Linked DNA regions of Homo sapiens: region 2 is linked to region 1. The links are contacts of gene promoters, found by promoter capture Hi-C in blood cells and fetal thymus (Javierre and others, 2016). All regions are on one chromosome and are shown on one strand. Each heading gives the region's core, a stretch centred on a gene start or on the middle of the fragment in contact. The rest is flanking DNA. Distances are from core to core; before and after follow the strand shown.

Region 1 (2,700 bases), core at 12-2,511:
TGGGGGTCTGGGGAAGAGAGGAAGAGGATATAGGGAGCGGTATGGGGCAGAAAACGCCTGCGGCAGCGCCTCCTCCCAATTGCTCAATTCCAATTCCCATCCCCATCCACAGCCCCACCCGTCCCAAAGGCCGGGGCGGGGCCAAACTGCCCCCAGAGGCGAAAGGAAGGGCTGGGACTCTTCCTTGGGGTTCTTAGCTAGCAGCGGGTTAGTCCCTCCTGCCCCCGCCCCCACAACGGGAACCTCCTGGTACCATTCCTCCACCCTCCGAAACCGCCCCTCCGCAGGAGTCTCTCCAATCCCCTGCGCTAGTCAATGCTAACTTTCTCCCACCATGCCCTCCCTCACTAATCTAGACCCCGAACTCCTTCTTTAGAAACCTTCCCTACTCTACCGGCCGCCCTTCCTCACCGGACTGTCCTTTGCCCACCACTGCAGGAATCCAAATGCAGCGCTTTTCCCGCCAAAACTTGAGGGCGTCACGCTGCCGCAAACTCGCGCACCCGCGCCGTAAAGCAAGACAGCGCGCGTTCCCGTGTCCTGCCCCTCTGAATGTCGGCGGCTCCAAAAGGGTGACGTGGAGATGTTGCCGCTCCCGCCCAGGGCTGCTTTGCAGTCGGGGAGAGATCCTGGCTGAAGAGATTTAAGGACGGCGGACCGCATCGGCGCGAATTGAGCTCTGGGCCCAAATATGAAGTGGCATCCGGTGTGAGGCTCGACTGGGCGGTGCTCGAGCGCTGCTGGGGGAAGCCCAGGCCTCCAAGCCTCAGGGGCGCGCGACCGACCGCGCTGCGCTTCCAGGCGGGGCTGCGGGCTTCGCTCCTGGCCGCTCTGGGCCTGAAAGGCTGCACCGCCACCTGCGTGAGGCCACCGGACAGGACTGTGAGGATCACAGTCGGTGAAGCAGAGTGCTTTGTAAACCTCAGAGTGCGGTACTCGTGGTGCTGGAGCCGAGAAACCAGCAGCAGCTGCTGAGAGCCGACTGTGAAGAAATGGGAGGAACTCCGTGTTGGGAGCGAGAGGCTTCGAAAGAACTGGCCACGCAGTCAAGTGTGTGTGGCGGGGCAAGTTTCCCGGAGAAAGCGAGCAGTTTATGTTGGAGCTTGAAGTCAGGATAACCAGTTTTGCCTTTTTTCTGTGAACCAGCTCCAAAACAATGCTTTACTTCAGCCCGGTCTTTTTGCAGGAAGACCATCTGCTTAGCTTAGTTCTACAAACTTTTTCATTTTTAATGTGCAAAGAACAGGCGGGGAGAGCCAAAATAAATCTTACAACGCAAATTTAAAAGCTGCGTACGTCATTTAAGTGGAAAAGTAAATTCTGAGGAAAGAGACTCAAGAACAAAATAGGAAAAATGGAAATAAGTATTCTCTGACAGTAAACTAGACTGGAACTCAGGGATAGGCAGGATCATCTCCATTACATTCTCCAGCACTGGCCGGGCGCAGTGGCTCCTGCCTGTAATTCCAGCACTTTGGGAAGGCGAGGCAGGAGAATGGCTTGAGGCCAGGAGTTCAGGACCAGCCTGGGGAACATAGGGAGACCCCATCTCTACAAATAAAAAAATTTAGGAATTAGTCGGGCTTGGTGGTGTGTCCCTGTAGCCCTAGCTACTTGGGAGGCCTAAGCAGAACAATCGTTTGAGTCCAGGAGTTAGAGGTTAGTGAGCACTACTGCACTCCAGCCTGGGCAACAGCATGATTCCGTAGGAAAAAAACATATTTTTTTATATGTATATATTTTATATATATACATATATATTTTCTTAGTCCTTAAGACTGGGCCACATACAAACACTAAGCATAACTGGCTATTATGATAATAGTAAAGTGAAACAAGTATAAAATGTTACTCAAGGCCGGGGCCTGGTGGCTCACACGTGTAATCCCAACACTTTGGGAAGCTGAGGCGTATGGATCACCTGAGGTCAGCAGTTCAAGACCAGCCTGGCCAACATGGTGAAACCCCCGTCTCTACTAAAAATACAAAAATTAGCCGGGCACGATGGCGAGTGCCTGTAATCCCAGCTACCCAGGAGGCAGAGGCTGCAGTGAGCAGAGATTGTGCCACTGCACTCCAGCCTGGGCAACAGAGCAAGACTCCGTCTCAAAAACAAACAACCAACAACAAAAACACACATTTCTTTTAAAGAAGCAAAGTCAGGAACAAAAATCAAGGAAAAAACTCTTAAAATGCTTATGTGTATAGTTTTGAATCATGACATCACAGATTAGGCTTCATGTAATCTTTTTACAGTTTGTTGTTTTTGGAGACAGGGTGTGTTGCTCTGTCACCCAGGCTGGAGTGCAATTGGGCAGTCTTAGCTCACTGCAGCCTGGAACTCCTGAGCTCAAGTGATCCTCCTACCTCAGCATCCCAAGTCACTGGGATTACAGAAGCGAGCCACAGGGCCTGGTATAAAAATAAAAGCAAGTTTTTATATCATTTATCCCATTTTCTCTTGTTTCCTCACTGTGTGCTGAAAACAAAGAATACGAAGAGGAAGACCTGCAAATTTCCTGTGTGTCTGATGGAGTCTTTTTAGCCTGAAAAAAAAAAAAAAAAAGATATACAGACTCCAGCAGAATACCAGTTAAAGACAGAATACATAGAAATAGCCTCTATTCTCTTCTGAAAGCCCACTAAAATATTTTAATAGTAAAGGATACCAATATTTAAAAGAACCCATAAGAACAGAGT
Region 2 (2,700 bases), core at 201-2,700, 5.3 Mb before region 1:
GCATTAGAAAAGAGTAAAGTAAAAAATGAGAACGAAATAATATAGCCAATTATGAGTAGTTTGAAATTGGGTTTAGATTTTTATATGGACATATAACTGATTTTAAATTGTATATCAATATTATTATACTTTCTGATAGTAAATAGTTTTCGGTTTATGTGATGGAAGTAACCATAACGGTGTTGAAAATTGGCCCTCGAGGAGCAGCATATTCCACAGAAAGCCTCATAGTTCCAAATGCTCCAGGCTTGAGAGCCCCACCCTGAATGCCACCTGTTGCTCTTACTTGGTCTTTCCTTCTCAGTGCTGTTCTGAGGGACTGCTTTGCTCACATCAGCTCATAATGAATACCCTGTCTCCAGAAAATTGTAAAGCACCAGCCACAACTCCCACCAACGAGGAGGTAGTTTTTTCCACCTCTTGCCCACAGTATACCTCAACCGAAAAATAATAGCCCATTCCTAATGAGAAGGCGCACATATATACTTCTCCCACAGCGTTTCATTGTGTCTTAACTACCCTGTCAAGAAGTGTGCCCCCATGCTGAGTTGCAGATTCCATGCCATCCGTGGTATTCACTCTTTGGGGAACATGAGATATAAGTCGTCTTTTCCACATACCAGCCCTCTAAGCTTAGGAAGACAGTGGACTTTGACCCCTTATCACATCTCCAATTTTCATGTGACTTCTGTGATACAGATGATACGTACTTAGGAAAAATTCAGTTTAGCTCTAAGAATAACAATTAGGAAAATTAATCTGCGTGAAACAAAACAAATACCCTTTAATTTATTCCAGATAAACAAATGATTTATATCTGCTGTTTGGATTACTTCTTCTTCCCTTAACTAATATAAATAATCACGGGAGAGTATAATGGAAAAATGGTTTGCCCCTTATGATGTTTAGCCCTGTAATTTAAAGGTGATAGAGGCAGTATCATTTTTATGGATGTTATGCCTTCTATTCAAATATTCATTTGAAAAACAGTTATGTAGCCATTTTTATAAGTCAAGAAAGTATCTGGGAGAGGGAGCTTTCAGATGAAAGTAGTAGTGCGGAGGAGTGAAACTCATTTCTGACTTTCTAAGCAATTAGATATAGGAGGTTCTGGAACAGAATAGGAACATACTCCCTCCCTTTGTTCTTAGTTTCGTACTCTTGCTATGTGGCCATTGACCAAGTAGTCAGTAAAGCCAGAATAGAAGATTGCTGAAACCCGGCTGATTGAGTCAATCAATTTGTTCGTTGAACAGTACGAGACAGCCCTTGACGGTGAAAACAGCAGCGGCCTGCAGCAGCTGGCCTACCACACTGTGAATCGTCGCTATCGGGAGTTCTTGAATCTGCAGACCCGTCTGGAGGAGAAACCAGATCTACGAAAGTTCATCAAAAGTCAGGAGTTTCCCCAACCCCTACTGCCCGCTTGCTTCCCACGTCGAGCCACGCTGATTGGCCTGTTGGTTTATGGGAGGGATCGGGGAGGAGAATGCCGTTTCAAGGTTCTCTGCTCCCTGGATTTGCTTCAGGAGTTTTGAAGTTTAGTGCTGGACAGCAGCAATCACATTCTTTCAGAGGTAGTCCTTTACTGCCAACTGCTTTGTTCTGGAGCCCCATCTAGTTTAAGATTAAAAAATAAGTGTTCACATTTCCACCTGTGCCTGTAAGTTGGTGTGAGGAGTTAAATTAACTTTTCCAGATTCATAGATTGGTGGTTCTTAAATATTAAAATATTACACAGAAGTTGTTGCCACCTTCTTTCCTTAACACCCAGATCTTTTGTGTGCTGTTATGACAACTCTCAGGCATGGGGAACCTTTTTTTTTTTTTTTTGACATGGAGTCTCGCTCTGTCCCCCATGCTGGAGTGCAATGGTGCAATCTCGGCTCACTGCAACCTCCGCCTCCCAGGTTCAGGCGATTCTCCTGCCTCAGCCTCCAGAGTAGCTAGGATTACAGGCGCCCGCCACCACGCCTGGCTAATTTTTGTATTTTTAGTAGAGATGGGGTTTCACCATGTTGGTCAGGCTGGTCTTGAACTCCTGACCTCAAGCAATCTACCCACCTCGGCCTCCTAAAGTGCTGGGATTACAGATGTGAGCTACTACGCCCAGCCAAATATTTTTTAATGTAATAAAATTTCACTCTTAAGGATTAGTAACTGGTTACTTTGTTTTTTAAAAATGATTACCCAAATAGTTGAATAAGTTTGGGCATAAATTATGTATTTTCTTTCTTAACACAATAGCTAATACTGAGCCAAGCTTGAAAATATGCGCCAGGTTCTCTCCTAAGCACTTTACACGTATTAGCTCTTTTAATGCTCCCGTCAGCCTGTGAGATAGGTGCCCTCATTATCCTCATCTTGTAGAAGAGAAACAGAGTCAGAAAGATAACACAAATGGCCTAAGATCATCATTATAGTAGGGATTGAGCCCAGATTTAAACTTGGGTCTCTGGACTTCAGAGCCCTCTCTTGTAACAATTTAGTGTTATATGGATCATATGGATCGTATGTATATTTGGAAGTCCTGAAATTGTTTTTTTTAATCCAAGGAAATATATTCAATAGTTCTGTTTTCTTTATATGTTTTATATGGAATAGCTCTCTGTGAATGTTAAATGAGTGAATATTTTGATTTTTTTTTTTTTTGGAAGATGTGAAGGGTCCTAAAAAGCTCTTTCCAGATCTTCCATTGGG

The links. Contacts are between HindIII fragments. The CHiCAGO score rates a contact against its expected background, and 5 or more counts as called.
Region 2: a contact is called between a fragment that was not itself captured here and the fragment with the promoter of CHEK1 in region 1, in 1 of 17 cell types (fetal thymus). The highest score is 5.3, in fetal thymus.

The regions. Positions count from the first base shown.
Region 1 is chr11:125,623,724-125,626,423 of GRCh38, reverse strand. CHEK1 (checkpoint kinase 1) reads right to left here and starts at 1,261. Exons shown (of 13, transcript NM_001114122.3): 1 at 412-1,261. LOC118567325 (a long non-coding RNA gene) reads left to right here and starts at 530. Exons shown (of 1, transcript NR_170378.1): 1 at 530-1,287. RefSeq lists an enhancer at 586-1,095. The HindIII fragment of the contact is 3,445 bases long and covers 1-2,700 here.
Region 2 is chr11:130,910,328-130,913,027 of GRCh38, reverse strand. SNX19 (sorting nexin 19) reads left to right here. Exons shown (of 11, transcript NM_014758.3): 2 at 1,257-1,395; 3 at 2,658-2,700. Among named protein-coding and RNA genes, the nearest start is that of SNX19, 4.8 kb to the left of the region's middle. The HindIII fragment of the contact is 1,631 bases long and covers 635-2,265 here.